2 separate regions of the Homo sapiens genome follow, and region 1 is linked to region 2. Evidence: promoter capture Hi-C in human tissues and cell types (Jung and others, 2019). All regions are on one chromosome and are shown on one strand. The core of a region is centred on a gene start or on the middle of the fragment in contact, and the rest is flanking DNA. Distances in the headings are between cores, read along the strand shown.

What was found. Contacts are between HindIII fragments. The study calls those that stand out against the background at their distance.
Region 1: a fragment that was not itself captured here is called in contact with the fragment with the promoter of KBTBD11 in region 2 in 1 of the 25 tissues and cell types used here (dorsolateral prefrontal cortex).

Annotation. Positions count from the first base shown.
Region 1 is chr8:409,219-413,544 of GRCh38, reverse strand. FBXO25 (F-box protein 25) reads right to left here. Exons shown (of 10, transcript NM_183420.2): 2 at 332-472. The coding sequence starts at 465. Among named protein-coding and RNA genes, the nearest start is that of FBXO25, 4.4 kb to the right of the region's middle. The HindIII fragment of the contact is 3,294 bases long and covers 84-3,377 here.
Region 2 is chr8:1,971,718-1,976,269 of GRCh38, reverse strand. KBTBD11 (kelch repeat and BTB domain containing 11) reads right to left here and starts at 2,593. Exons shown (of 2, transcript NM_014867.3): 1 at 2,335-2,593. It overlaps KBTBD11-AS1 (KBTBD11 antisense RNA 1), which reads left to right and starts at 2,925. Exons shown (of 3, transcript NR_136275.1): 1 at 2,925-3,122; 2 at 3,607-3,730; 3 at 3,913-4,552. KBTBD11-OT1 (KBTBD11 overlapping transcript 1) reads right to left here. Exons shown (of 3, transcript NR_126346.1): 2 at 4,233-4,345; 3 at 1-371. The HindIII fragment of the contact is 1,977 bases long and covers 2,339-4,315 here.

The DNA.
Region 1 (4,326 bases), core at 481-2,980, 1.6 Mb after region 2:
ATTACTACATTTCTGATATATGCCACCAAAACTGTGCATTTCAATTTCCTCAGGTTCCTCAGCTATAATGTGGGATTAAAAATAATACCTCTCTCCCAATTATTGTGAGGATTAAATGTTTTAAATTAAAAAAAAAAAGACGAAAGCATCTGTGTATGAATATTAGGCAATCTACTAGCCTCATTTTTTAGCTAAACAACTTGTCTCTTCACACCAGCCTTCTGGGTGGGCAAGTCTCAAAAGTTATGGAGCTTTGCAGGGACTTGAAAAATAGGTAAGGCCATACATGCTAAACTGGCAAATGGCATGGTTCTGCTCAGCTGTAACTTACATGCTGTGACTGATGTTACAACGGTTATTCTCTCTTTCAAGTTTCTGACTACAAGATTCACATCTCTTCCAGCCATCTTCTGTCTTAATCCAACTCCATCCAGGAGATCTCCAGTCCTGACCCAAAAATGGCATAGTTCTCCTATGAAAAAGTTAAATTATGTTAAAAAGTATATATAATTCATAAAAGTTTCTTTTCACTTAGAACATTTATTAATTTTAAAGATTAAAGTTCTTAACATTTAAATGTCTGCTCATTAATTAAACGTTGGCTCGACATTGGTGACAGTGACAATAACACAGTACTGTGTACTAAAGTGATCAAATGGGGTAAGTAAACGTGGTTTTACTGGCCTAATACTGCGTATCCCATGAAAGGTTTACCAGAGGTGACATTCTAGCTCATACCTGAAAAACAAGCAGGGGTCAGGGAGTGTGGAATAGGGAATATTATTCCAAACAAGTATTCTCTCTTTGCCAGAAGTTAGAAGCAACCGAAAATGAAATGTATTCATGTTCAGCAACTCTAAGTAGTTCAGTTTGGTTGAAGCTTAGAATAGATGAGAGAGAGTGGGCCAGAATTAAGGATGGAGAAGTCATTTAAGGCTGGATCAAGTTAGAGGAGTTGGATGCTATTCTGAGGGCAATGAGGGGCCAAAAAAGGGAAGTAAGCAGGTAAGTGATTCAATCAGATTTGTGGTTTACAAAGAACTCAGTATCACAGTGGGAGAAGGTATGGGGTGAGGGTCACCTGGAGGAAAGTAGTTGGGACTGGAGGCTTCTGAATGTTGACCTTTAAAAGGTGAGAGTATACAGTGGCAAAATAAACAGAAGAGCAGAGACTGCAGAAATATTTAGGAAACAGAGTCAAACAGTACTTGAAGACTGTCTGGAAACGTGAGGAGGAAATCAAGGAAGTTATCTAGATTTTGTTTTGTAGCCCCTGGATCTGGGATAAGACATACAGAAGGAACAGCAGGGTTTTATTAGGAAAGGAGAGATAAGGGATATTAATTTCAGCTTAGGACATGCCTGTTCAGTTTGAAATACCAGACTCCAGGTATAAAAATTATGACTTAAAAAATGATGCAACTTCGTGATTAACTTCATGACGCTCACAATTTGATAAGAGTGAGACTTCAAATGCTAGTTCTTCCCACTGACTTGATTTCTGCTCCTCTTGATCAGTGGTTTTCAACTACTGCTGTGCATTAACATCACAGGAAGCTTTTTAAACATTCAAGTGCTTAGTCCCATCTTAGTTCAGTTAAATATGAATATTTGGGGGTGAAGGCTAAGTTTAAGTAGTTTTTAAAGGTCCACAGGTGATTCTCATACACAGTGAGACTGTGCATGAGGCTAAAAACCACCTCAGATGCTCACACTGCTGATTCAAAATGTCACATCCCAGAAAGGCTCCCTGACTCCCCGTCCAAACAGCGCCCTTCTGCTGCCTCAACCCCCTCCCTACCAGTCTAAGCCATTATCTAGTGCCTTCATAGTTGTAAGGGCTGTCTGAAATGATTAGCGTGTTTATCATCTGTTTTCCTCCAAGAAAATGCAATGTCTTGTTCAGGTCCGTATTCCATTACCTTGAACAATGCCAGGAAAACAACAGGAGCTCTATAAGTATTTATTTACTGAATGAATAAATATATACATCCATGGTTCAGAAGAGAGTTAGACTAGAGAGAAAGAGGAAAATCATGAGCATTCAGACACTAATCAAAACCACACAAATAATATCACAGAATATGTCGAGAGGGAAATCAAGAGAGCCAAGAAAAAAACCCTAAGAAACATCACCATTTAAGGGATCGGCAGATATAAGCCAAGAAGAAAAACTGAAAAGGAAGAGCCAAAAAGGTAGAGGGAGAAGTAGGAAGTCAGGAGAAAAATGTATTTCAGGAAAGAAATGGTCGACAGAGACGAAAATGTTATAAAAATGCCAAGCATGGCAAGAGTTGAAAATATACGTTGAATTTAGCTACAGAAAGGTAGCTGAATTACTCAAGCAAAAGTGGTTTCTGTAATGTATTACTTTAATTTCACGTCCCGAACAGACTTGAGTATTTTATAATATAGAATATTTATATCGTAGAGAAAAATGTAGAATATTTACATCATGGAGAATAAATGAGAGATGAACATCTCCAAACACCACCTCCCAACTATATTTAGTATAATTAACAAAAAACAAGCTATTAAATGGGCACTTATACAATCCTAGAAGATACAGAAAAAAAAGGAAGGAAATTACATAGACTTCAACAATATTCCTGGATCAACCACAAATGCTTAATTCTTGACTGGTGTAGGAAATGATGAAGTAATTATTCTTTACACGAAGAAAATCTCAAACCTTGCTAAACTGACTTATAGTCAGAACATGTCTTTTTCAGTCACATAATGATTAATTTAAATTCTTGCTTTAGAAAATACTTTATTCCTTAAATTTCAGCACAATTTTGATAAACTTTGTCTCACAGAACTGCTTCACAACTACTGAACATCCTAAAATGCAAAACTCAATGCCCATGTTCAGTCGACCTAAAGTTATCTAAAACTGTCTCTAATAGCATACAGCTGATTTTATGATTTTCAAGAACATTCCCACCAAAGGCAGCAAAGACCATGAAGTAGCAGATGACTGAAGTGGCACCTTGAGTCTCATAAAACACATTCAACAGAAAATGGCTGCTAGGAACATCTCTGATAATTATCAAATTATCTCTCAATATCAACTTGAAACTGTGGATTCAGAAATCTATATTAAAAAAAAAAATCAAGTGGATAATCCTGAAAAATATTGCTAACAGACCAAATACAGGATTACTTCAACGACAAACATTTGAGCACCAACTACATGTTATTATGCTAGATGTTCCTGCCCTCAAAAGTGTGCAATTTAGCTAAGGAACTAAAAAAGAACAATAGCAAAACACACACAAATTCCATACAAGTGTAATATAATAAAGTGTGTTTACATGTAGATATGTGAGTGTGCATGTATACATACATACAGATATGTCCACAATCTTGTAACTTGTGGTAAAGAGAGAATAAAGTTAATTTGAGCAGAAAGCAAATCAGCTGGGAAAGCTCTGACTAGAAACTAGGACTCGATCTTCGCCCTGAAGCATGGTTAGATCTTAAATGAATGGAGAGGCAAGGCAAAAAATATCAATCATGGGAATGGTGGGTGAATAAGTATAAAGGGCAAAATGTGTGCCACAGTTTGAGAAAAATAAGCAGAAAAGATGGGATAAAATGGAGAAAGTTTATCAGAGGACTGGTACATAAGCGACTAGAAGCCAGGTCATAGAAGAATATCAAAGGTGTTTAGACTTTATTCTGTCAGTAATTAAACGTTTTTCAGCAACAGATCAGCGTGAGCAGTGTTGTTTTGAGAATAATAATTTTCTAGGGCTTGTAGGATAGATCAAATGAAAAACATGGAGACAGAAAAAAACAACTAGGCAACAAATATCTTGCCAACAGAACCTTATCTGGATGACTGTCCTATGTACATCCCGGTATCCTCAGCTGAAAAAATATTTTAAAACTTGATGACACACAAATATTGTACTTACCTATTTAGACACTATGCCCACTCATCATTTAATACACTTATCTTCTAGTTTCACAATCTTTATAACATTTACATAAAGAGCCTGCCTACTGTTTCCATTAATATAACCAATTCTTTTACAACTACCTAAACTCTACAGATAATTCATTTTGGCAACTCAGTGAAAAATGAATAGTTTGGTCTGAATTTCTCAGCTGATAAGTTTGATTTTTTAAGGGTTGAAAGGAGTGAAATGCAGCCATGGAAATAAAAAAATAGTCCATGCCCAAAGGCTTATTTTCAACACAGAGGAAAAGATTTGTTTCTCTGAAGATGTGTGTGCTTCACAGATTTGTTATGGTATGCTCTATGGATCACAATGAAGTTTTTCTTAAAGCATAATCTATACAGCTCATGAACTAAAG
Region 2 (4,552 bases), core at 1,344-3,843:
TGACACGATGAGCCCTTGACCTCCGGAGAAGGGCAGATATCGCCCTGAGTCACCAAGGGAACACATGCTGAATGACAGGCTGATTTGTGATCAGGAAACCCGCTGTTCTCCGGGCCCTTCTCAAGCCCACTCAGACACCAGTCCTCCTTGATCACAGCCTTGGATGCAAGGAGGCTTAGAGGCACTGCAGCTGCCTAAGTGATTCCAGATTTGCAGGAGAGCTATTATTACTGAGCAATCTGTGCTCTTGGTATTTAGAAAACAACTGAAACATGTGCCCAGATGGAGGCGTCCACAGCACGGAGAGTCTCTCTGTATCAGCACAGGGACAAAGACGGGACCTGCTGGGCTCCCACTGCCAAGGTTGCTACCTGTACCGGAACATATGGAAACCCCATTGAAGCGGGTTTGTATTGGAGTTTACAAATGATGCGATAAGCTCCAAACCACCTTTCCGGATTCTTCCATCCACCCAGAGCAAGGTGCTCTGAGGTTCAAGTTAGGCCCAGACATCAGTCAACACAGAGTCCTGCTCCCTGGGAATTTCTTTAGTCTCAGAGCCACAACATTTAAGCTTTCTCCCCTCCTCCCAAGCCCAATGCTGGCTTAAATACAGTCACGAATGGTTCAGATGCAGACAGGTTCTGAGAAATGATAGTTAGATAACTTCATCACTGTGCAAACATCACACAGGGCACCTACACACCTAGGCGGTGCAGCCTGCTACACACCTGTGCTCCACTGCACAGACTCCTGCTCCAGACTGCACACCTGTGCAGCGTGCACAATACCGCAGGCAATTGTAACACAATGGTGTTTGTGTATCTACACATTTCTAAGCATGAAAAAGACACAGGGAAAACAGTTTTATAATCTTACAGGACCACCGTCAACTTGGCGGTCTGTAATTGATCCGAACGTGGCTGTGCTACACATCACTATAATGTAAGCAACATCTTTTAACTGATTTTATTATGTGCTGTCCAATGCTATGGCCAGCAATGCCTGTGCAACTGACATGGAAAGTTCAAAGGCTTTACCTCATTACAATTTTTACTTAGTTATGCCCTGATGGGAGCATTGCAATGCCAGTTACCATAAATCTGCACACACGAGGTTGTTGCTGGAGCAAATCTGAAGGCAATGGAACGCTCCCTTCCGTGATGTCAGGAATGGGGAGGATTATTCTAATAATAGCACACTATTAGCTCAGGATAAAAGGCTGAAGGGTTCCATTGACATCCATTAAGGGGTCCTAATTGGAGCCTGAGTAACTGCTCCTTAGTGGGAAATGGAGGCGGGAACCGCGGGGAATCGGGCGAACTTCTCACTCAGGGCCTGAGGGGATGGCTGGAACTTTAAAATCTGACGGCGGCGCCTTTCGTGGGCTGAGTAGAATAAAGCTCGCTGCACTGATTTGTTCCTTTTCTTTTCCTTAGAATAGACACTGGAGTGGGTGGAGGGGGAAACGTGGTTTTGTAGGACTCTAAAGAGGTGGAGGGACTTTGGTTCACCCTCTTTTCATGCTCCAGAATGAGCCCCGCCTGAGAGGAGGGACCCCTGCGGAATCCCGCCCAGACCGCCCGGGGGTCTCCCCAGCACATGGGGCGGGGGCTGCAAGGGGCGCCCGGCAGGACTCGGGAGCCGCGGCGCGGTGGGGCGGGTGGGTCGCGGTGCTCGGGGCTCGCGGGGGTCAGCAGCCAGGACACCCCCGCACCCCGGGCGCAGCGGCGGAGGACCAAGGGCCGCGCTCCCCTCCCCAGGGCCCCGAGTCCAGGAGAGACCCCCGTTCGCTCCGGACAGCCGATCCCCGCGACCGCCGAGAGCCAAGCGGAGCAACCCCGGGAGGAGCCCCCGCCCTGGCCCCGCGCGCTTGGCTTCGGCTTCTGCTCCTGCTTCCGTGCCGGCTGGGGCGGCGGGACCCTCGGCGGGGGCGGTGACTGCGGGCGCGGCGCGGGCGGCTCATTGTCTTCCGGCCGGGGTTGCCGCGTCCCGGGGGAGGGCCTGTGGAGACCCCGCGAGGAGGCCCCCACGCCCCCCACGCGGCCTCCCGGAGGCGGAGCGGAGACCACCCACCGCCGCCCACCCCGCCGCGGGCAGCGCTGCCCCCTCCTCTCCCGGTCCCCCCTCCCCTCCCCTCCGCTCCGCTCCCCTCCCTCCCCTGCCGGCCTCCCCTCCCCGCCTCTCCCCTGCCGGCCTCCCCTTTTCTCCCCTCCCGCCTACTGCCGCTCTCGCCGACCACCTCCCACCCGCCGCCCCCTCCGACCCGCGCCTCGGGCTGCTTCCCGCTCCGCCCGCCAGGCCCCGCCGCTGCCTCCCCGGGGTCCGCCCTACCTCGCCGCGGCTCCTCTTCAGCCGCCGGGCCCGGGACGCGCAGCCAGGCGGGTGGGCTCCGGCGCATGCGCGCGGCCGCTTCCCGGCACCTGTGGGAGCCGCGGCCCGGCCTCTCCGAGCACCTGCGAGCGGGAGCTGCTCCTCCGACCCGCAGCGGGGCGTGGGCGGCAGAGGGGGCGGTGGACAGGCCTCTCCGCCTCTCCAGGCCGCGCGGAGCCAGCGCTCCGGCTCCAGGCTGCGAGGGGCGCGCGCGGGGCGCGGGGAGGGGGGCGGGCGCGTGCACACGGGGCGTTTTCGGGCGCGCGCCCCCTGGCTGGGTCTGCGGAGGGGCTGTGGGTTCCCCGGGGCTTCCCTGCCCCGCGCCTGCCCGCCGGGCGCTTCTCCCCCTCCAGGACCGCGGCCCACGTCGCCACTCGAGCCCGAGCCCGAGCCCGCGCCCACGCGCGGGGGCCGCTTCCTGCGAGGAGGCGGGGACAGGTGTCCGCGGGCGCAAACAGCGGAGTTTCGTGCGCCTATTTTTTGGTAAAAGTAGAGGCGATGCGTTGTTGACATATTTAGTGGTTAAAAACTTATTGCCAAATTCTCAACAGATTCCAGAATTTTTTAAAGTTCACAACACGAGAGTGGACGAAATGTCGGAGCTTTTGCTCATATCCAGAAATGTGGCCTCTGCCTCCCACTCGGGCCCTGCGGTGCAGACGGGTTCAGGGCGGCGAGGACTGAGCCAGGAGCGCCGAGAGTTCCAGCTGCTCCCAGGCTGGGTTCTAATTAACGCTGGACCCCTGCTGGTAAATGCTATTTTTAATGGCTTTGTGCAAATTAATGACGATGAGATTTCCATAAGTACCGAGAGCCAGAGCCTTTACTTTCTCTTTTTGTGTTCTTTTTGCTTGTGACAGTCTTTGCCAGTTCCATGCTGTATACACATAATGAGCCGTTACAACTCCAGCACCAAAGCTAACGCCCCGGGAACATCTTTAAAACCTTTTTCACTCTGTTGCCAAGAAGAGTAGTACCTGCTGTCAGTACTTGAATTACAGGAGGCTGAAACTCAGCGAGCTACTGGGATTTTTTGAAAATTGAAAACTTCCGTTAACTATAGCAGAAACAGACCCTTTTGGTGGAAGCTAAAATAATTCCCATGCTGCTCCGTTTTTATTTTGTTCAGTTTACTCCAAAAATGTTCCAAACTCTACTGTGATCTTCTTAGTGCATCTCTACTTCCTTTCGGCTGCAGAATAATACTTCTTTTTCTCTTTTGTTTTTTTTTAGAGATGGAGTCTCACTCTGTCGCCCAGGCTGGAATGCAGTGGTGCAATCTCGGCTCACTGCGATCTCTGCGTCCTGGGTTCAAGCAATTCTCCTGCCTCAGCCTCCCAAGTAGCTGTGACTACAGGCATGCACCACCACACCCAGCTAAATTTTGTATTTTTAGTAGAGACAGGGTTTCACTGTACATTGGCCAGGCTGGTCTCGATCTCCTGACCTCAAGTGATCCACCTGTCTTGGCCTCCCAAAGTGCTGGGATTACAGGCATGAGCCACCGCGCCTGGCCTAACTACCCCCATTCTTTTCCAGAGAAACGTGAACAGGCCAAACAAAGCCTCACCTGGCTATCCCGCCACCCTGGGGTTGGGCCTCCAAAGGCCCGGGAGGTCACCTAAGACACGGTGTTCTGAACATGCAAGCCCGACAGCATCTTCTCTACCATTCTGCCAGAGTCCAGAGACCTGGGAATAGGTCATACCCCCCACTGCATTTTACAAGCTTGGCATACATTAGGTTCTCAATAAATACTGAATTAATGAAAAAATTGCTGAAGTAACTGAAAACATCCATCCAAACCCCACACCATCTGGTAGATAAGTAGTCTGTGGGGAGTCCCATATTTTTCTTACCTTAGATATTTATTTGGAAATGGACTGTAGGCCCAATATGGTCAATGAAACTTGCAGAGGAACATTTCATGCCTTTAATTAGTTCTTCATAACTGCAGGGACCTCTAGAGTTCCTGAAATTGAACTGGGTTGTAATACTGTCAAGAAAAAGGAGGACCTATCTTAAATCTATTTCAAGGGTAATACTATTTTACTATGTAAATTTTCCCCTGGTCAGGGACAGCCTGATCATGCATGGTAGACTCGAAGCATGCAAATATTTCAACATGCAAAACCGCCCTAAAAATATAACCGAAGCTTATGGAGTTGTCCAGGGTACA